Linked DNA regions of Homo sapiens: all the other regions are linked to region 2. The links are contacts of gene promoters, found by promoter capture Hi-C in blood cells and fetal thymus (Javierre and others, 2016). All regions are on one chromosome and are shown on one strand. Each heading gives the region's core, a stretch centred on a gene start or on the middle of the fragment in contact. The rest is flanking DNA. Distances are from core to core; before and after follow the strand shown. Region 1 overlaps SDK2 (sidekick cell adhesion molecule 2). Region 2 holds the start of COG1 (component of oligomeric golgi complex 1). Region 3 overlaps SLC39A11 (solute carrier family 39 member 11). Region 4 overlaps SLC39A11 (solute carrier family 39 member 11).

Region 1 (5,902 bases), core at 2,969-5,468, 170 kb after region 2:
AGGGCACCATTTCCTTCCTTCCCTATGGAGCAGCCTGTCTGCAGCACAAGGGCAGAGTAACTGCGGGGTCAGGTGGGGTGGACACGCCTGAGGGAGTATGGTAGGGCAGGCAGCCCTCAGGACCCTGTACTCATCCTGCACAGGACAGTACTCAGGGCTGAGGACAGAGCCTGCACCTTCTCCGGGGCCAGGAGCTTCCAGCGAGTCCAGCCACTGCCTGGCTGCATGTTCCCCGCCTGCAGACCGCCCCCTGCACCCACACCATGTGGGAGGATGGCTTCTTTATTTCTTTTTTTGAGACACGTTCTCACTCTGTTGCCCAGGCGGGAGTGCAGGGGCACGATCACAGCTCACTGCAGCCTCCACCTCCTGGGCTCAAACGATTCTCCCACGACAGCCTCCTGAGTAGCTGGGACTTCAGGTATTCACCAGTATGCCTGGATAATTTTATTTTTGTAGAGATGGGGTTTTGCTGTATTGCCCAGGCTGGTCTTGAACTCCTGGGCTCAGGCAATCCACCCGCCTCCACCTCCCAAAATGTTGGGATTACAGGCGTGAACCCCCACACCCGGCTGGTTCTTTCTTTCTCAGAGTGCCCTCCACTACCTTCTCTGAACCCTCTGCCCTTTATCTCCTCCCACCTCCCCACCTCTCAGCCTGGGACACTTCAAGCCTCAGGATAGAACAGCCTGTCCTCCGCACAGCCCTCTCCTGTCCCCAGGCCACTGCCAACGCTTGGTCCTCAGTTGCTTGCCAGCTCTCTCTCCTACTTTTGTTTCCCAGGAAGCTGGCTCAGGTGAGAGGCAGCGCGGGGCGGGGCTGGAGGCAGATGAAAGGACAGCGGCTGGGTGGCTCCTGGGCTGCCTCCTGCAGGCTTTGTCCTGAGTTTGCCCTAGAGCTACAGGGCTTCTTTGCAGAACCAGACTGTGGGGAATAGAAAGTGACTGGCCAGAAAGAAAAAGTGAAGCGCAGCCAGACTAAGCCATTAGGGGAAGACTCTCTTCCTGAGTCAGGCTAATTGGGACTGCTGGGGAGGGGAGGCCTGCGCCATTCTTGGCTGAAGGGGGTGGGCAGAGGAGGAGATGGGATTTTAGGGGAAGTCCAGGATGGGCTGTACCCCTTCTTAGGGAGGGAGGCAGCAGAGTGGTCTGGGAGGTGACTTTTGTGTTCAGGACAGGACATTCTACACTGACCAGTAACAGGGACTTTGGAGGGCTAAACCTTGACCATGGCAAATGCCTGGGGGGATGAGGGGTGGGAGGGGAAGGGAGGTGAAGAGGACATTTAAAGGAGGCGATTGGGCACAGTGGCTCATGCCTGTAATCCCAGCACTTTGGGAGACTGCAGCAGGTGGATCACTTGAGGTCAGGAGTTGGAGACCAGCCTGGCCAAACCCTGTCTCTACTAAAAATACAAAAATTAGCTGGTCGTGGTAGAAATCACCTGTAATCCCAGCTACTTGGGAGGCTGAAGCTTGAGAATTGCTTGAACCCGGGAGGTGGAGGTTGCAGTGAACTGAGATTGCACCACTGCACTCCAGCCTGGATGACAGAGCGAGACTCTGTCTCCAGAAAAAAAAAAAAAAAGCCCAAACAACAACAACAGAAACAATACAGGAGATTAAGGAAGACTTCCTGGGGTGAGGGGCGGGCAGTTACACACAAAAGGGCGTTCTGCGGAGGGGGTGGGTGGTGAGGTGGGGGAGGCAGGGCCCTGGCTGTGAATAGGTGACCTGCTCCATCAGGTGTTTCTCAAGGTGCCACTTTGTCACGGCCTCCAGGGGCTTTTGTCTAAGTGCAGACTGCCAGGTCCCACCTCAGCCCCAGGAAATCAACCCCTCGGAGCATCCACCCTGGGAACGTGCATTTTAGTGCGCCCTGCTCTGAGAACCGCTGCCTGGAGGGTAGGGGTGGTTCAGGGGCGTGGGAAGATGGCTCTGGCTGGGCGAAAGGCAGGGGCACCTGCCAGGCTGCATCCTTCCAGGACGGAAGTAAAGGAGGCCATGCAATTAGCAGGGAGAGAAAGAACGAAGCAGGCGCAGTGGCCAGGCCAGGCCTGTGGGCTGGGCCTAAGTGGGAGAGGAGGGGGCGCTGCTCCAGGGTTTGTGGCTTGAGGAACCTGAGGACACATTAATCAAAGCGTGGAGCCCGGGAGGAGGGAGCGGGGGGAGGGGTCACTGGGCACCAGGGGAAAGAGTGAGCTCTGTCCTCCACTCTGTTTCCAGGGTCCAGCACAGCTCTTGACACCGGGGGCCCCTTCTGACTGGGGACGCTGAACCGCCGTGTGGAAGACATGCCTGGTCCGTTGCTCTCCTACCTTCTCCGGGGCCCGTGGTGACGTTGGCTTCGATCTCCGGCCCGTAGGTGAAGGTCTTGGCTCTGATGCGGAACCTGTAGGTCACCCCCTCCGCCAGGTCCTTCACCTTCAGCCACAGGGGGCTGTTCCCCTTCACGTCCACGGTCACGATCTTGCTGACTCCTGGGGGAGGCACAGCAAGTGGGGACTGGGCACAGGGCCCACCGAGGGCACTGGAGGCCATGGGGAAGGGGAAGCGGCCGTGGCCTGGGCCCCGGGACCCTGGGTAGGGGCCTCACTCCTTGAGGTCAGGCTGAAATGCACCCCCAGCCCACACAACCACATTGCCCATGCTGTGTTTCTCACAGCACGGTCCTGCCTGCTGTTCTCAGGGAGAACGGCTCCATGGTTCAGTATGTTTGGGAAAAGCTACTACTGTCTGTGTCTACTGAGTAGCCACAGGGTCCATCATCAGCATCTACAGAAAAGAGAACACTCGCCATCCTGTTTAATGTAACCTCTGCACCCCAAATATGTTTCGGCTCCATTGCTATTCCCTTATGCAGCATCCCATGGGACTAGAATTATATCCTTTTTCAGGAAGTGCTTCCATAAAAATACCAAAAGCCCAGAGTTGCGGGGACACACTTTTGACCAGGTCCTCCACCTGAGCCCCACTCCAGCTCCACCTCTGGGGTTCAGCCAGGAGCTCACATGGCCCTCCAGCACCTATATCTGCCACAATTTTTTTTTTTTTTTTAAGACAAGGTCTTGCTCTGTTGCTCAGGCACAATCATGGCTCACTGTAGCCTCGACCTCCTGGGTTCAAGCCGTCCTGCCACTTTCAGCCTTCCAAGTAGCTAAGACTGTAGGTGTGCACCATCATGCCTGGCTAATTTTTAAATTTTTGTAGAGACAGGGTCTCATTATGTTGCCCAGGCTGGTCGCGAACTCCTGGCCTCAAGTGATCCTCCCACCTTGGCCTCTCAAAGTGCTGGGATTATAGGCATGAACCACTATGCCCAGTCCACCAAGCTTTTTAGGGCAAAAGTGAGGATGCCTCAGCACCCCAAATCACAGCAACTAGAGGGGACGCTTGAGCCAGCTTTCAGGAGGTGGGGGTTTGCACTCTGTGCTTCGCGAATCCAAATACTCCTGACTGCCAGCCTCCCTGGGAGCCGGGGTTAGTGTCATTTCCCATGTCCATCGAGCACGCCAGTCACCAGTGAAAGACAGGCCTTGCAGCCAATAGGCTGGGCTCAGACCCAGTGATGGCGCCGGCCCCGGCATGTCCCTTAACTTGGCTTCAGTTTGTTCTGCCGAGTGAGGGTGTCCACAGCATCTTAGGCAGGGATGCTATGAGCTTTAAGTAAAATAACAGAGCATGTAGGTGCCTGACCTATTTATTGACTAAGTGGATTACTAATATTATCGTTTTGAGGTGGATTTTCACTATTGTTGCCCAGGCTGGAGTGCAATGGCGCGATCTCAGCTCACTGAAACCTCCGCCTCCTGGGTTCAAGCGATTCTCCTGCCTCAGCCTCCCGAGTAGGCGTCCACTACCACACCCAGCTAATTTTGTATTTTTAGTAGAGACAGGATTTTGCCACGTTGGTCAGGCTGGTCTCGAACTCCTGAACTCAGGTGATCCACCGCCTCGGCCTCCCGAAGTGCTGGGATTGCAGGTGTGAGCCACTGCACCCGGCCGCTAAGTGGATTACTAAATGATGGAACAATGTAGGCTCAGAGGGGCTTCCTGAAAGAATGAAATGACCCTGGGACCAGGAACAGGGACTCTGGCTACCTGCTCCTTGACAATTCTGAACAAAGCCCTCATCTGCCTGGACCTTGGTTTTCCCTACAGGACAGTGGGGGCTGCTGGGCTTTTGTGAGGCTGGTTTGCTATTGACCTGAACCCAGGATGAACTGGGGTGTGGACACTGGGCTGTCCAGGCGGGGCCTTGTCTTGCTGTACTTATTAACTGAACTATTATGGGAAGATGGGAATGTGTAGGGGTGTGGAGTTGAGCCACACAGTCCAGATCCCACCAGACTGTGGAATTGGAAGGCAAAGAGCTCACATCCTCAAGTTGAGAGGGTCCTGGACAGGCCAGGTTGAGGCCCCTGTGAAGAGGGCTTGTGCTGGCCCCCTGTACCTTGTCTCGGGGACTGCTGTCCTCTGCCCCACTCCGGCCCTGCACCTGACTGGATCTCCTGCTGGGGCCTGGCTCCCCCCTGGTGTTCTAACACACAGCTCCCCTTTGCAGAACGAGCTGCTGGCACCCAGGTGGTAGCAGGGAAGACTGAGGGCCATTGTTCCCTAGGCTCACCGAGAACTGCTGGTCACAACGATGTTCCCAGGTCTCTGCCCCTTGTTCTTGCCAGGCTCCGTGATTGGAGGGGGTGAGAGTGAGAGGGGTGGCTCCAGAGGTCAGCCACACCCCCAGCACCTGGCTGGGACTAGTCCCAGGCAGTGAGGAACGCAGTTTCCTTCCTGCCTAAATCCCATCCTCATAGGATGGTTGTTCATAACAAAATGGCAGGGATTTCTTGGCATGTTACCAGGGGTAGAAAGCTGGCAGGTACCAGATGCCCATTGTCAGGGGCTGCGCAGCCCAGCCTAGGAGCCCAGAAATGGGCAGGTTCCCAGCTGGGGCCCGGAGGAAGGGGTCAGAAGACCAGTCAGATGAACAGGGTTAAGGACAAGAGCGAGGTCATTTGCAGAGCAGGGCTCTTGATCTGGGGTCCGCAGATAGCAGTGGGGGGTGCAGGGACCTCCTTGGTCTTGTGTATCTTCCTGGGGAGAGGCTCTGAAGCTTTGGTCAGATTCTCATCAGATTCTCCAAGGGGTTCCTGACTCCCACCAAAGCTAAAGAAGGACTAACCCACAGTAAAGCTGAGAACCCTAAGGTTTGGGAAAGGGCAAAGTAGGACCCTCAGGGGCTCCCCTCTTCTTTTTCTTTTCTTTTTTCCTTTTGAGATGGAATCTAGCTCTGTCGCCCAGGCTGGAGTGCAGTGGCGTGATCCCGGCTTACTGCAACCTCTGCCTGCCGGGTTCAAGCGATTCTCCTGCCTCAGCTTCCCGAGTAGCTGAGACTACAGGTACCCACCACCACACCCGGCTAATTTTTGTATTTTCAGTAGAGACGGGGTTTCACCATGTTGGCCAGGCTGGTCTTGGAACTCCTGACCTCAGGTGATCCACCCGCCTCAGCCTCCCAAAGTGCTGTCATTACAGGCGTGAGCCACCGTCCTTGGCTGCCCCCCTTCTTTATGGTCTCAACAGAGCCCTGTCCACTCAGGTTTCCCTTCCTTTCCTCCCTGTTTCCGTTGACCAAAGGGGGAAGAATATATTTAACGATTCTCTGCCTGGAAGTTAGGAGACCTGGATCTCTCTTCCAACTCTGCCCTCAACTTGCTGTTGTTTTACCTTGGAAATGCACTTTCCCTTGTCTGGGACTCAGTTTCCGTGTTTATAAGATGGGGAGACTCTCACCGAATCTCACTCATGTGTAGTGGCTGTGATGGGCGCTGAGATGAGAGCGAGCTTTTGCAAAGTGGGGGGCTGGGGAGCTGTGCTGGGGGGTCCACTCACCATCCACGGGGC
Region 2 (5,537 bases), core at 2,304-4,803:
CCTGGCCCGGCTGTGGCAGCTGAGGTCTTTGCCCCTGATCCGTGGTTTTGATGGTCCCAGCTGATATGCAGAAGGCAGAGGAAGGGGGTGGTGCTGTCCTGGGAGGCAGAGGACAAGGAAAGGAGCCATGGAGAGGAAAGAGTTAAAGACACATTTCCTCCAGGGCCAGGAGCTTTTCCAGTGACCAGGCAGTCAGGTGACAGCTTCTGTCAGTGCTCAGTTCTGCAGGCAGAGGAACAACAGTGGCATCTTCAGGCCAGTCAGATGAACTTGGCCAGGGAAATACAGAGGAAAGGCAGGGAACACCCTGATTTCAAACCACACTCTGGACTAGGTGAGGTGGCTCACACCTGTAACCCGAGCACTTTGGGAGGCTGAGGTGGGAGGATCCCTCTAGCCCAAGAGTTTGAGACCAGCCTGGGCAACAGAGTGAGGCCCTGTCTTTACACAAAAATTAAAAAATTAGCCGGGCATGGTGGTGCACACCTGTTAATCCCAGCTACTAGGGAGGCAGAGGTGGGAGGATTGCTTGAGCCCAAGAGGTGGAGGCTTCAGTGAGCCGTGATTGCACCCCTGCACTCCAGCCTGGGCAACAGTGAGACCCTGTCTCAGAACACACACAAACACACACAGACACACACACACACTGCAGTGTTGACAGCTGGCCAGTTTGTCTTTTCTCTACCTGACTCAGAACACACACACACACACACACACACACACACACACACACTGCAGTGTTGACAGCTGGCCAGTTTGTCTTTTCTCTACCTGAGCTTACAGGTATTGTGCACAAGCGCAAGGACCATCCCATACAAAGCCCTGGGCCCCCCACTATCCCTGATATGTTGACATTTCTCCCCTTGCTGTAAGAAAGGCTTCAACCAAACTCTCATGGAGCTGGAACCTTAGTGCAGTGTATATCAGTTAGGGCTAGGGCAAACCAGGGAAACCGATTTTGATTTTCAAAGAAACAAAATTGATCAGTAAGACACTGCACAGTTCATAGAATCTCTGGGAAAGATGGGGAGGCAGGTTCAGGGGACAGGCAGGAAGGAAGGAAGGGAAACAGAACATTTAAAACCTAGACGAGCACACCACATGGTGATTCTGTCGAGGACGTCATTGTGGGTGCCCACGGCTGCCACCAGCACCACCGCCAGCATTAGCAGCTGGGAGCTGGAGCTAAGTTCACTGCCCTTGCTGTCCTTAGGGAGTGGATGTTGCCGGTGATACCTGTGCCACCACCAAAATGCAATCGCCCCTGTCACCTGCGATTTTTTTTTTTTTTTTTTTTTGAGACAGGGTCTTGTTCTGTTGTCTAGGCTGGAATGCAGTGGCCCAATCATGGCTCACTGACGCAGTCTCGACCTCCAGAGGCTCAAGTGATCCTCTTGCCTCACTTGCCTCTTGTCAAGTGGCTGGGACTACAGGTCCACAGGCCCACACCACTACTCCCGGCTAATTTTCTTTTTCTTTTTTTTTTTGAGACGGAGCCTCACTCTGTCGCTCAGGCTGGAGTGCAGTGTCTCGATCTCGGCTCACTGCAACCTCCGTCTCCCAGGTTCAAGTGATTCTCCTGCCTCAGCTTCCTGTCTGCTGCCTCAGCCTCCCGAGTAGCTGGGATTATAGATGTGCGCCACCACGCCCAGCTAATTTTTGTATTTTTAGTAGAGACAGGGTATCACCATGTTGGCCAGGCTGGTCTCGAACTCCTGACCTCATGTGATCCGCCTGCCTCGGCCTCCCAAAGTGCTGGGATTACAGGCATGAGCCACCCGGCGCGCGCCCCTTTTTTTGTATTTTTTTGTAAGGACGGGGTTTGGCCGTGTTGCCCAGGCTGGTCTTGAACTCCTGGGCTCAAGGGATCCACACGCCTTGGGCTCCCAAAGTGCTGGGATTACAGCCTGCTTCTTAATGTCACTAACTCTTCACCCAAGTCCTAGGCGCTTGTGCCTGCTGTGCCAGTCCCAGGCCGCAGGCTGGCACCGTAGCTATAAAGGGCGCCAGAAAAAAAGATTTTGCTAGATAGCGATGAATTCCCCAATCACAGAAAGGAGATACTGCGGATGCTTATCAGCCGAATACCAGTAAGTGTCCCTTGCAGAATGGGATTAGAGACTGCAAACTGCAGGCCTGCCAACAGAGGGTGCTCTGTGGGAAATTATGTGAAAACGTAGAAAAGAGCGCGAGCCAGTAATTTAAAAATCGACGTCCAAATACTCACTGGGTCACCTATCAGCTATGTAATTTGGGCAGGTAAATAAGCTTTTGTTTCTTTTTTTTTTTTCCTCATAAATGGACTAGGAATATTACTCCTACCTACCTGGCATGGCCGATGTGCGAGAAAATGAGATAATCTCGTGGACAGGCTCTGAAAACTGCACTTTTACTGAGTAAAAAACCCTTTGCCTCTCCGGGCCCCCGTTTCCCCATCTGTAAAATGAGTCTGTAAAGTGAGAATGATACTCCCTACGCCGCAAGGCTCTTGCGGGTTAAACTGGAATATTATAAATGCACCATTTATTTGCAGATTGAAATTCTGTGCGTCCGGAGGTGGCGGGTGGGAGAGGGAATGAGCAGGGATGCAGGGTAGGCCCTGAGTTGCTGGGGGCTCAGCATGGCCGCTGCGCACATTGCATCATTTTGTCGACACTGGTGTGGGTGAAATCTTCCAAAAGAAATTAAAACAGAAAAAAAAAAAAAGAAGGGTCTGGGACTTAGCAGAAACAAGCCACAATCTCCAGATTCTACTATTCCTGGGCCACGTGAGGAGCGCCCACCCGTCTGGCGCTGCGTTCCCCGGGGCGTCCCAGCCTCTCCCGCCCAGCCCGCCGCCCTCCTCCCCCATGGCCACCAAGGTCAGGCTCTCGCAGGGAAAACGTCTTCAGGGGCTAAACATCGGTTTTAAACGAAATGGAAAACCTCCAACACGAATCAACAGCAGAGGAAAAGCAGACGCCAAACAAGCGCTCAGAACCCCTTCAGGGGCGGCGTGGTAGCTCTTCCCGGGGAACAGCGAGGGGCGCGGATGTCCCTCTTCCTAAAACTGCACGCGGGGTGCGATCCGAGACCCAGCGGCGGCGAGCGCGCCCGAGTCTGCTCGCGGGCGCCAGGCGCGCGGAGAGCGGCGGCTGCGCCTGCGCCAACGCCGTCAGTCCGCGGGGCCCGATCCCGACACCTAACTCCACAGAGAAGCTCTGCTCCTAAGGGAAAGGGAAGACTTCAGCCACAGTTTCGCAGCCAACCTGGCGACCTCACCTCTCTGGCGACCTCACTTCCCAGCCGGCTCCGTTTAAGAAAACCCCGCGCAGGACCGCGCCCGCCCCCGCGCCCGCGCCCGCCCCCGCCCCCTCGCGCCCGCCCCCTCGCGCCCGCCCCCTCGCGCCCGCCCCCTCGCGCCCGCCCCCTCGCGCCCGCCCCCTCGCGCCCGCCCCCTCGCGCCCGCCCCCTCGGGTAACAAACATGGCCCCCGGCGGGGCGGAAGCGCTTCCGCCCCCAACGAAGATGGCGGAGGGGGCGGGACTAAAAGGGCGTAGGTAGATCGCCGGGGGCTGACGAGTGCACCATGGCCACCGCGGCAACCTCACCCGCGCTGAAGCGGCTGGATCTGCGCGACCCTGCGGCTCTTTTCGAGACGCATGGAGCGGAGGAGATCCGCGGGCTGGAGCGCCAGGTTCGGGCCGAGATCGAGCACAAGAAGGAGGAGCTGCGGCAGATGGTGGGCGAACGGTACCGCGACCTGATCGAGGCGGCCGACACCATCGGCCAGATGCGCCGCTGCGCCGTGGGGCTAGTGGACGCCGTGAAGGCCACCGACCAGTACTGCGCCCGCCTCCGCCAGGCCGGCTCGGCCGCGCCCCGGCCACCGCGGGCCCAGCAGGTCAGTCCCCGTGCCCCCACCCTGCGACCCGCAGGCGGGTCCCGGAGCCCCTGGCCTTGCAGGTCAACCCCGCCCCCCTCTGTCAGTCCCAGACCCCGCGAGTCCTCACCTTCCTTAGCCAGGAGCCTATCCGCCCCTCACCCTTTGGGCCCCCCTCAGAGGACAGTGCCAGCCTTCCTTGCACATATGCGGCTGCTGATCCGTTCTGGAAATGCCATTCAACAGTTTCTTCAGGCGCTTTCCCCCGACTTCCGGGCCTTGATTCCTACACCTCACTGGGCTCCTTTCAATTTTAGCGGAAAACGCCAGGAGTTTCTGTCTTGACAGTTCAACGCTCACCTATATAACATGTCCTGACATTGTTTTTCCTCAGGTTTCTCCCCTATGTTGACACCTGCACTCCAAGTCATTTCTTCCTCATCCCAACCTTCCCCTTATCTCCCCAAGAATAACTTCCACAACCCCAAATAGCTGTTCTACCCTTTGGGAGTTGTTGAGGGTACCAGCTATCAAGCCCTTAACTTTATGTATGTATGTGACAGGGTCTCCCAAAGTGCTGGGATTACAGTCATGAGCCACCACAGCCGGCCAAGCCCTTACCTTTTAATAGCTGAACATTTTCATTTTCAGAACTAAGGCTTTTTTCATTCAGGTTCTCCTTATCCCGTGTTCTTCCCCCCAAACGCTATTGATTAGACACAATGAGGAAGGATGGGAGGTAAACAAACACATCCTCATATTGGAGCTGCAGCTTGCGTTCCTAAAGAATTTTTATTGGCCGGGTGCGGTGGCTCACGCCTGTAATCCCAGCACTTTGGGAGGCCGAGGCGGGTGGATCACGAGGTCAGGAGATCCAGACCATCCTGGCTAACACGGTGAAACCCCGTCTCTACTAAAAATACACAAAATTAGCCAGGCGTGGTGGCCGGCGCCTGTAGTCCCAGCTACCTGGGAGGCTGAGGCAGGAGAATGGCATGAACCCGGGAGGCGGAGCTTGCAGTGAGCCGAGATCGCGCCACTGCACTCCAGCCTGGGCCACAGAGCGAGACTCTGTCTCAAAAAAAAAAAAAAAAAGAATTTTTATTTCTTTATTTTTTGAGACAGGATCTCGCTCTGTCACCCAGGCTGGAGTGCAGTGGCGCGATCTCGGCTCACTGCAACCTCCGCCTCCCGGGTTCAAGCGATTCTCCTGCCTCAGCCACCCGCGTAGCTGGGATTACAGGCACCTGCCACCATGTCCGACTAATTTTTGTACTTTCAGTAGAGACGGGGTTTCACCATATTGGCCCGGCTGGTCTCCAACCCCTGACCTCATGTGATCTGCCTGCCTTGGCCTCCCAAAGTGATGGGATTACAGGCGCGAGAGCCACCGCGCACGGCCCCTTAAAGAATATAGACCTAGCAATGAACGAAGTGAAAGGGCATGAAGGGTGAAAAAGGTAAACAGTTAGTTGTTTTTAACAGCCTGGGAGAACTTACTGGGACATAGAAGAAAAAATTGAAAAGTACAGTCTAACTCCAATTTGGAACTTGTTCATGCTATCTGAGCTTTACAGAAATCCTGGTCAGTAGACTGGACTGACACAATAAAACTATAGGAAGTTGCAAATAAGTTTGCATATTTTTGAAATGAGTGACCTCATCCCTCCCAAAG
Region 3 (5,481 bases), core at 1,169-3,668, 230 kb before region 2:
CTCTCCCTGACATTTCTAGCACGTTGACATTTCTAGGGTCTAAATGTACCCTTAGGAAACTAATTCTGGAGCCATGTGTTATGAATAAGATGTAGCGCTCCACCAATTTTTTTATGGCACAAACTTACAATCAAAGCTCCAAACTCATAGGAGGAATCCCATTTCTTCTGATACATCAATAAATGACAACAAGTCATTATATAGTTGAGGTTCTGCCTGGCAAAGGCTTCAGCTCAGCCATCCAGGGAAGATATCTGTGTTGGCCTCAGGGGCAAAAGCAGCATTAGGCACAGGAGACGCAATGTCCAGTAGCCCACCTTTAGGGACCCATGAACAGTTTTAATTTCTTCTCAAATCAGAAGAAAAAATAACAACTACATGATAATGAATCCAGCCTAGATTATATTCATCCTTATACCAACACAGCTGCAAAATATAAGTTTTAGTCTTTTTTTGTGGAGAAAGGAGCCCAGAAAGGCAAAAGCTGCTAGGACCCCCAAAAGTACAAAGGTGGCTCTGCTAGTGGCGCCCCCCGAGGTACACACGAGTTTTCCTCGTACGATGCAAGTGCCATGGCTATTCCAAAGGGCACCTGAGCCAGTCTCAGAAAGAGACTTTAGTCAAGACTCTGATCCTCCAGTGCTGACCTTTGGGCTAAGCAACAAATGAAGATAGTTCCCAGACCACTGCAGGACAGAATTAATATGCTAATTTGCTTAATGAGAACAAATTAACCTAAAGTTACAAACACAGGGCTAATGAAGCCACATGTGGTCCCTGGATGAGCTGCGTAGTTTTGTTTGGATCCATGGTTACCTTGGCCTCCCGGTCCGCATCAGCCACCTAACAGCTGTAAGCTGATGGCCTCCAGGGAGATGTAAGGGTATAAATGAAACAATTAAAATCCTCCTCAAATGCCAGAAAACAGGCATAAAACTATTATCAGCAATATCAATAGGATTATCATCCTGTTTAAAAACAAAGGAAGAAGGAAAAAGAAGAAATTGAAGTAAAAGACTGTAAATTGGGAATGGGCGTGACACTCAATGTTCTGAGGTAAGTGCTAGTGTGAGATACTTGGCCATTAGTATGAAACCAGGTAGAGTATGCCAACAACTGTAAACTAGTTCAACCATTGTGGAAGACAGTGTGGCAATTACTCAGGGATCTAGAACTAGAAATACCATTTGACCCAGCCATCCCATTACTGGGTATATACCCAAAGGACTATAAATCATGCTGCTATAAAGACACATGCACACGTATGTTTATTGCGGCACTATGCACAATAGCAACGACTTGGAACCAACCCAAATGTCCATCAATGATAGACTGGATTAAGAAAATGTGGCACATATACACCATGGAATACTACGCAGCCATAAAAAAGGATGAGTTCATGTCCTTTGTACGGACACGGATGAAGCTGGAAACCATCATTCTCAGCAAACTATCACAAGGACAAAAAACCAAACACTGCATGTTCTCACTCATAGGTGCGAATTGAACAATGAGAACACTTGGACACAGGAAGGGGAACATCACCGGGGCCTGTTGTGAGGTGGGGGAAGGGGGGAGGGAAAGCATTAGGAGATATACCTAATGTTAAGTGACGAGTTAATGGGTGCAGCACACCAACATGGCACATGTATACATATGTAACAAACCTGCACCTTGTGCACATGTACCCTAGAACTTAAAGTATAATTTAAAAAAAAAGAAACTGGAATAAAACATCTCTAAAGGTTGAAAAAAAAAGCTGGAGGAAATATGGGACTAGAAAAATGCTGAGATGGATAAAAGTATGGACGATCCCTGGTTTCTGGCGTTTCAAGCTTTTTTGACTTTACAACGGTGCAAAAGTGATATGCATTCAATAGAAACTGCACTTTGAATACCTATACAACCGTTCGGTTTCTCAATTTCAGTACAATATTCTGTAAGTTTCATGAGGTATTCAACACCTTATTATAAACTAGGCTTTGTGTTAGATGATTTTGCCCAACTGCAGGCTAATGTAGGTGTTTTGAGCACGTTTAAGGTAGCTGGGCTAAGCTATGATGCTCAGCAGGTTCGGTGTATTAAATGCATTTTTGACTTACAGTATTTTCAGCTATGATAGGTTTATTGAGATGTAATCCCACTGTAAGTCAAGGAGTATCTCCAAAAGGAAGGAGGTGAGGCTTAATGTGTGGAAAAGATACCAGGATGGAAGACCAGAAAATCATGCAGGGAGATACAAGGTGCCACACCATGCCAACAGCTGAGAAATCTGAACAGAGAGGAAGTTCTGCTGTTAGATACCTGACCTTGTCACTTCAACTCTTGTTCATAAAACTAGGGAATTCAGACTGAATAGTCCCTGAAGCCTGCTCTATACCAAACCATCCACAAACCTACAAATTTCTAGAAAAAAAGACACCAACTCCCATTCCATGGAAGAGAAAATGGCTCCAACCCCTCCCCATAAGTTTCCAAGCCACTTGTAGAAGTCGTAGCACACCTTGAGGAAAAGAGCCCTTGGCTGCAAGGCAGGTCTTCATTCTGCTGAACCAGGGTGACAGGCCCAGCTGAGGGCAACGCAGCCACTGAAAACCCACAGGGCATCCAAGGGAGGCGCAGGCTGGCACCCCTGCTGGCCTGGGTGGTGCTGCCTTTCTCAGTCAGAGGTTCCCTGTGGGAACATCACATCCAGTGGGTTCCAGAGAGGAAGAACTCTCAGCAAAGGTGAAGGTTTAAACTGAGAAAATTGTGACCTCCACGCAAGCCGGCCCAGGCTCTTTCGGGTGTGGGCATTCCTCCTACAAAGATTATCTGTTGAGAATTACTACCGCCCCCCACAGAGGGAGGCTTAGCACATATACTCAGGTGAAAGATGGGAATGTTCTGGAAGTGATAGTAGTTTCAGAAATTAACAGATCTTCTAGGGCAGGGGTCCCCAATCCCCAGGTCACAAACCGGGCCGCACATCAGGAGGTGAGCAGCAGGGGGTTGAGGAAAGGAAGCTTCATCTGTTTTTTTTTGTTATTGTTGTTGTTCTTTTTTTTGAGACGGAGGCTCGCTCTGTCGCCCAGGCTGGAGTGCAGTGGCGCGATCTCTGCTCACTGCAAGCTCCACCTCCCGGGTTCACGCCATTCTCCTTCCTCAGCCTCCCGAGTAGCTGGGACTACAGGCGCCCGCCACCACGCCCAGCTAATTTTTTGTATTTTTAGTAGAGAGGGGGTTTCCCCATGTTAGCCAGGATGGTCTTGATCTCCTGACCTCGTGATCCGCCCGCCTCAGCCTCCCAAAGTGCTGGGATTACAGGCGTCAGCCACCACGCCCGGCCGCTTCATCTGTATTTACAGCCACTCCCCACTGCTGGAATTACTGCCTGAGCTCCACCTCCTGTCAGATCAGCAGCGGCATTAGATTCTCAAAGGAGCATGAGCCCTATTGTGAACTGTGCATGCAAAGGATCTAGGTTGCGCGTTCCTTATGAGAATCTAATGCCTGATGATCTGTCACCGCCTCCCATCACCCCTAGATGGGACCACCTCGTTGCAGGAAAATGAGCTCAGGGCTCCCACTGATTGTCCATTATGGTGAGTTATATAATCATTTCATTATAGATTACAATGTAACAATAATAGAAATAAAGTGCACGATAAGTGTAATATGCTTGAATCATCCCACAACCATCCATCCCCCGCTCTGTAGAAAAATTGTCTTCCATGAAACTGGTCCCTGGTGCCAAAAAGGCTAGGGACTACTATGCTAGAGTGAGATATTATACCTTTTTATTATAAGAAAACACCCTCATGAGAAGAAAATGCTATATAAGCATGCTCAGAGAGAGAGAGAGAGAGAGAGAGAGAGAGTGTGTGTGTGTGTGTGTTTTCCTTTTATCTAGAAGACCAGCTCCTAAGCATATCCTGGGAGCCATCCTAAAACCAGCCTCCACACCAGAGTGCCCGCCCAGGAAGCAGGCAAAAGAGGGTGGTATGTCCACAGGTCCCTGGAGGGTTGGGCTAACTTAAGCTAGGAAAATCAAAAGCATCCCTTCCCAAGCAGGAAAAATAATCCGTGACGAAAAGCTCCAACAGCCAGAGGAGAGAGTGCTTTGCAAAAAACACAAACCCATCAGAGGCAAAAGGTACTGATTGCTTTTCTCTGACATGTATCTTCAGCTGGAGCAATGCACAAAGCATTCGCACTGTGCACCTTCAGAGTGGATGCTCCAGGCCAGCAAATCAGCCTCAGATTAATGTTGAGAGCCGCTGGAGAGCTCATCACTGCCAGGACATGAGGGATCAACTAGGGAGGTTAATAACTGTGCCCAGCCCCTTAACAGCAGAGCTAAGGAGGGCGCTTTCCTCTCTGCAGTCTCAGTTCTTTTCCACCCTCGGTTGTTACAATTGTCTACACGTGGAGAACTAATAGCATTCACCACCCCCTCTCCTCCACCCCAGACCCCAGCCTCCTTCTTCTCCACCTCCTGACAGCATCAGCCCCCATCCAACCTGTAACATCATCCTGCATCCCGGCCTGGGAGCAACAAGGAGAAAAGATTGTGTTCCCTTGTGGGCCTGGAAAGCAATGTTTGTTTTTGGTTTTAGGAGCTGATGCATGTCCAGAAAATTAGCTGTTGCCCCAGAAACCCCATGAGCTAAGCGGGAAAGCAGGAAGGGAAGACATCAGTTCTAGAATTTAAAAGGAAGGCATCTGCGAGGTAACTATGGAGAGCCTGAGACTCAGTCCAGAGAACAGAGAAGAGTTTGCCCAGGTTCCACCAGAGCCGAGACCAACTCACAGCAAAGTAGCTGCATGACGATCTCTCTCTCTCTCTTTTTTCTTTTTTTCTCCATTCCTAAGACCAGGACAATTGTGTGGAGGAAACCCATTGGGAATCTGAAGGGCTACAGGTCATGCATAAGGTCACACAGAAGGAAGTGACTAATGGTCTTTCAGTTTCCCCAACCCAGTCAGACCACTGTCCCTCTGCTTCTGCCCAAGGTGGGAACTAGCCTGATGTGCAGGTGGTGGACTAAGCAGCAAGGGACAGAGTGACCACAGAGGCCTCGCTCTTCACACACACCTGTGCATTTGGGCAGAATCCTCCCCGACCGCCCATCAGCACCTACAGGCTACAGAACTCTACACAAAGGACAGAGGAAAAAAGCGTGGTGTTGACTCCTGTGTAAGAAAAATGCAGCCACCACAGAATTCACAAAGAGCAAGACACGATCCTTCTCGGCCAAGGAAGGTTCTACACACGTGCGGACGACACAATCCCTGGGCCTCCCAGAGTTAACTGAAAGGAAAGAATTATTTTTTATTCTTTTTTTTCTTTTGGCTAATTTCCCAAGCCAATGTCATTGTGCCCTGCGCCTACACCGTCCCCTGCTTGAGTAGGAGATCAGAGTCCAGGGTCCTCTGGCTCACCCATCTCTGATGCACGTGCTCAGGTCTACCATGGGAAGCCAATGCCATCAAAGGACA
Region 4 (5,356 bases), core at 1,640-4,139, 250 kb before region 2:
CACTTCACAGACACACACAGGGACGAAGGTCACAATGTGGGCAGAGATTGAATTGATGCAGCTACAAGCCAGGAAACGCTGGGGGCCAAAAGAAGTTAGAAAATTTCCCTAGAATTTTCGAGAGAGTGTGGCCCTGCTGACACCTTGATCTCAGACTTCCGGCCTCCAAAACTGTAAGGGAATACGTTTCTGCTGTTTTAAGCAGCTCTGTATAGTACAAGATAACCATCCCTTCTCTGAAGGGACCAGAGTGTTTCAGATTTTTCAGATTTTGGAATATTTGCATTATTTTACTGGCATCATTTACCAGTTGAGCATCCCAAATCTGAAAATGTGAAATCCAAAATGTTCCAAGGAGCATTTCCTTTGAGCATCATGTCAGCGTTCAAAAGGTTTTGGATTTGGGAGCATTTCAGATCTTGGATTTTCAGATTTGAGATGCTCAATATGTACTTTGTTGTGACAGCAACAGGAAACTTACACAGTCAGGAGAGAACTTCTACACATTCAGATGTGTATTGCAATTATTTCCCCAGAAGTTAACTGAGCCGACTGTTTCAGGTGACAGTGGAAGCGGTCATCCCTTTAACGGTGCCATCCCTTTAACTTCATGATAGCATAGATGTACACCTGCCAGCAGTCTTAAAAGATCAGACTTAGAGCCATCTGACTTTTTTTTTTTTTTTGAGATGGAGTTTTGCTCTTGTCGCCCAGGCTGGAGTGCAATGGCGTGGTCTCAGCTCACTGTAACCTCTACCTCCCAGGTTCAAGTGATTCTCCTGCCTTAGCCTCCCACGTAGCTGGGATTACAGGCATGTGCCAACACGCTCGGCTAATTTTTGCATTTTTAGTAGAGACGGGGTTTCACCATGTTGACCAGGCTGGTCTCGAACTCCTGACCTTAGGTGGTCCACCTGCCTCGGCCTCCCGAAGTGCTGGGATTACAGGCGTGAGCCACTGCGCCCGGCCCTGACTTTCTTTCTCGCTGCACTCTTTGAGTAACTTTTCAACTTCATTCTACTCTTTTTTCATCCTGCATAGTCTGCATTCCCAGCCCATGCAGGTATGAGGCTAACGTAAGGAGGCAGCCATGCAGTGAGAGAATCTAGAAGGCAGAAACAAAGAGAACTCCTTTCTCCTGACACCTGGAATTCCTTGAAGCTAACTACTATCTCTGGAAGACAACTTCTCAAAAAATTGTTCAGCGCAACTATGGCCTGAATCACGTCCCCCGCTTCAAATTTCTATGTTGAAGTCCTAACGCCCAGTACCTAAGAATGTAACTGTAAGGGAGATAGGATTTTTAAAGTGTTAATAAGGTTAAAATGAGGTCATTAGAGTGGGCCCTAATCCAATATGACTGGTGTCCTTATAAGAAAAGGAGATTGGGACACCGACAGGCACAGAGGAAAGACCACGCTTTGGGAGGCCGAGGTGGGTGGATAGCTTGAGCCCAGGAGTTCAAGACCAGCCTGGGCAACACGGCAAAATGCCATCTCTACAAAAAAATACAAAAATTAGCCAGGTGTGGTGGCGCACTCCTGTAGTCCCAGCTACTCCGGGGGCTGAGGTGAGAGGATAGCTTGAGCCCAGGAGGTTGAGGCTACAGTGAGCCATGATCGCACCACTGCACTCCAGCCTGGGTGACACAGTGAGACTCTGTCTCGATAAAAAGACAGACCATGTGAAGCCACAGGGAGACGACAGCCATCTACCAGCCAAGGAGAAAGGCCTCAGAAGAAACCGACCAATCTTGCCAACTATTAGTCTTGGACTTCCAGCCTCCAGAACTGTGAAAAAAATAAATTTCTGCAGTTTAAGCCACCCGGTTTGTGGTATTTTGCTACAGCAGCCCTAGCAAACACATGTGAGTGCCAAATTGCCTCTAGCCTCATGCCACATGAAAATTTGCTCTGAAATTACTGCCTGGCTTAGAAAATCAGGACTGTGTTTTTTTTTTTTTTTAAAAGGCAGAAGCAGATAAAGTGCTATTTGAGTGCTCCATATTAGGCCAAATAGAACACTCTTCAGAAGCAAAAGACTCTATAAAGCGTACCCACCCTGATAATGTTCCCATGAGCTAGGACACTAACGGTCTCATGCTGCCTGCACAGATCCCTGTCCAAGAAGGTATCTCTGCATTGTTTATTTAATATCCAGATGCGAAAAAGCTTCTGGCAGTTATTATTATTGAGCCCTTTGCCCTCCTGCAAAATATTTTTGTGCGGCACATTTTAACGCTGGTTTGCTTCATTCTATTTATTTATTTATTTATTTATTTATTTATTTACTGAGACAGAGTCTCACTCTGTCGCCCAGGCTGGAGTGCAGTGGCACAATCTCAGCTCACTGCAGCCTCTGCCTCCTGGGTTCAAGTGATTCTCCTGCCTCAGCCTCCCAAGTAGCTATGATTACAGGCATGTGCCACCACGCCTGGCTAATTTTTGTATTATTATTATTTTTTTTTTAGTAGAGACAGGGGTTTCACCATGTTGGCCAGGCTGGTCTCGAACTCCTGACCTGAGGTGATCCACCTGCCTCGGCCTCCCAAAGTGCTGGGATTACACGTGCATTCTCACACTTCAAATGAAGAAACCCAGGTTACGGGTCTTAGCCCAGAAAGGAGGTAGCAGCCAGGGCCTACCTATTTTTCAGTTCCTAGATAACTCCTCTCAATTGGGCCAGGACAAGATTTTAAAGTCTCCCCTAACCAAGCAGGTACAGGGAAAAAAATAAATAAATAAAACTCTGATTGCCAAAACCACATGCCAAGAAATTATATCTACATGAACTGTTGTGAAAATACTCTTTCATTTTTAGAGATCTTACCAATAAAAAGTCAAAATTAATAACATCTCAGAGACTTCCCCAAACACATTATTTCGGAAACCTAGTTATAAACACTCAGAATTTCTCCTAGGAGTTACACCTCACTCTCGATCAAATTTAAGATCACTAAATTTGACTGGAAATATCAGTGACAAAAGGAACATGTCCTTCAGGAAGACATGGAAAGTTAGAAGATACAGAAAAAGAAAGGTAATAGGAACCATGAAGCTGTTTAAATAAGTCATCTTTGCTTCCGTAGGCTTAGGCTATTCCAAGCAGTTTTAGCGCCAAGGAAACTTGGGAGTGGAATGTACGTGGCTGAGCTTATAGCGAGAACCAGCTGCTTCAGAGAAGAGATTGCATCCCACACTGCCTGGCTGCCCTCCCTAAGCCCCACACATTATGTCTAAAAAAATGCAATCCTCCAAAGCCTAGCCAGTGTGAAAACCCACCTATTGGGTTCATTGTTGAACTAGAGAAACCGTTCCCAGTCAACAGACAAACACGTAAGCAGTAGTAAAACATGAAGTCAATGGGCCAATACCTCCCTGTTCTTCAGTTCATCAAATCTTTTTCCAAAGGCACCTAAGGGAGGATGTTTAACAGGGAAAATGGGAGAAAGGGATGATTCCAAATACAAGACTGAAAGAGGACACTGTGATACCTGGAGAAGAGAGAGTGTCTTGAGGTGGAAGAAGGGGATCAAAGAGCAACTGAACTCCATCGTGTTCCCGAACAGGACAAGCCCTGGGGTTGCTGATCCGGGGTTGGGCACTTGAGAAGCTTGAGCTAGAAAGGAAAATCATCTCCTGCAAGACCATTTCCACAGGAAGAGTGCCACGCAGCACATCAGAAGCAGAACCAATAAGGAATTCAAGATTTTAGAGTAGAAAACAAAGACACTCAGCTAATGGCCAGTGACTGCAGTTCTACAATCTATAATCCACTTGACACGAGCTTGGCATCAGTTTCATTTTGCAAAACATGGCTTTGATAATTGCATCAGATCTGCAAGGCTGTGTAGGCAGAATTCTTATTGCCAAGTGAATTTTCCTATAAGAATAGGGCATTAAGAGAAAAATCTGTTTCTTACCTGAGTGTCGTACGGCTTACGCTTCCCTGACTTGAGTACCCATTCACTTTTTCCCCCAACACTTCAGAAAGATTTACAGAAAATGCACAGATGGCACCTCACAACTGAATAATCTCCTAAAGTAAATCCACCTCTTGCTCTACCAGAAAATAATGCCTTCTCCTGGTCTTTCCACAGATACACAAAATGATAGGCAATTCTCCTATGCTAATAGACCGATGAAATTCACCAATAATAATAGTGATGACAAAGTTCACTAGTGAAGAGTATCTATAACTGCATCAGACCAATCTGGTTCAACTTTTATGTAACAAAGCTGTGAGCTGCTTTTCAGTTGCCATGGACCCTCAGGTCATGTAACCTAAGCATGCTCAGATGAACCAAGTGTACAACCACAGGGGGAACCTAAGTGCTGGGACAGAGGAGTGGGACTGAATTAAGAAGCAGACACCACATGGCAGGATCCAGGATCCAATGAGATTGAACTCTGGCATCACCCCATGACAGGATCCAATCAGATAATGCCTCCTAACGTCACCTCATTGCAAGATCCAATCAGATCACACCTCATTACTTATGCTTATAAAACCCAACCCAACCCCCAGCTCAGGGAGACAGATTTGGGCATTCCCTCCTGTCTCCCTGCCAGTTGACTTGACTCCCAATAAAGCTGTTCTTCTCTCAAAAGCCAGTGCCACGGTATTGGCCTCTGTGTGCATCGGGCAGCAAGCCCACTGATGCTTGGTAACATTTCAACTTCCTCCCCCAGAACATACTGCATATTTAAATGGGGAAATTAACAATTAGTAAGAGAATCAACTGATTCACTTTTAACTACCTTCTCTTTAGCCTACAGAGGATGCTATGAAGAAAAGAAAAAAAACTCAACTTGACAGCTGAGTGGGGACAACTGAGACAGAGAAGCCCAAGATCTTGAACAACACTGGGTGTATGCAGCCATCTGGGGTGTGATGAAATATAACTTATAGTCCCTTGCCTTTCAAACACACACACACACATACACACACACACAGACTTTGCATAAAATGCAAGAGGCTCGTGAGTCCTTTGGTACTCATGCATGGAGCCCAGACATAAAGAACTCCTGGCCTCATTTCTAGAATTTACTCAACAATATAACTGTCCACAGAGATGTAGATACTAAAATGCTCTGTGCCACATTCTTTGCAATAGCAAAGCATCAGAATTAACCCCATGGGCATCCAGAGAGGGCTAATTAGGTAGCATCATGGCCAATAACAAGAATGGGATGGATCTATGAGCACCTCAGGAAAAAAACACCCAAGGGTACCGTTAAGTGCAAAAACATATGATACAGAACAATGGGTCAGGTGTGATTATAGAAACATGATAATTCTGAAAGGATGCACAAGAAACTAGAAACGATGTTTGTGTCTGAGATGGGGGGACTAG

Evidence for each region. Contacts are between HindIII fragments. The CHiCAGO score rates a contact against its expected background, and 5 or more counts as called.
Region 1: a fragment that was not itself captured here is called in contact with the fragment with the promoter of COG1 in region 2 in 2 of 17 cell types (total CD8 T cells and naive CD8 T cells); the score reaches 7.9 in total CD8 T cells.
Region 3: a contact is called between a fragment that was not itself captured here and the fragment with the promoter of COG1 in region 2, in 1 of 17 cell types (M1 macrophages). The highest score is 5.1, in M1 macrophages.
Region 4: a contact is called between a fragment that was not itself captured here and the fragment with the promoter of COG1 in region 2, in 1 of 17 cell types (M0 macrophages). The highest score is 5.9, in M0 macrophages.

Annotation. Positions count from the first base shown.
Region 1 is chr17:73,359,368-73,365,269 of GRCh38, forward strand. SDK2 (sidekick cell adhesion molecule 2) reads right to left here. Exons shown (of 45, transcript NM_001144952.2): 38 at 5,891-5,902; 39 at 2,317-2,478. Among named protein-coding and RNA genes, the nearest start is that of CDC42EP4, 50 kb to the left of the region's middle. RefSeq lists enhancers at 1,691-2,362, 4,180-5,155, 5,620-5,902. The HindIII fragment of the contact is 1,781 bases long and covers 3,329-5,109 here.
Region 2 is chr17:73,189,502-73,195,038 of GRCh38, forward strand. COG1 (component of oligomeric golgi complex 1) reads left to right here and starts at 3,554. Exons shown (of 14, transcript NM_018714.3): 1 at 3,554-3,883. The coding sequence starts at 3,569. RefSeq lists enhancers at 2,781-3,540, 2,826-2,875, 3,506-3,785 and a silencer at 3,836-4,045. The HindIII fragment of the contact is 5,644 bases long and covers 2,267-5,537 here.
Region 3 is chr17:72,963,541-72,969,021 of GRCh38, forward strand. All of the region lies in intron 4 of SLC39A11 (solute carrier family 39 member 11), which reads right to left. Among named protein-coding and RNA genes, the nearest start is that of SLC39A11, 130 kb to the right of the region's middle. The HindIII fragment of the contact is 1,170 bases long and covers 1,834-3,003 here.
Region 4 is chr17:72,939,607-72,944,962 of GRCh38, forward strand. The region is part of intron 5 of SLC39A11 (solute carrier family 39 member 11); the gene reads right to left. Among named protein-coding and RNA genes, the nearest start is that of SLC39A11, 150 kb to the right of the region's middle. The HindIII fragment of the contact is 1,441 bases long and covers 2,170-3,610 here.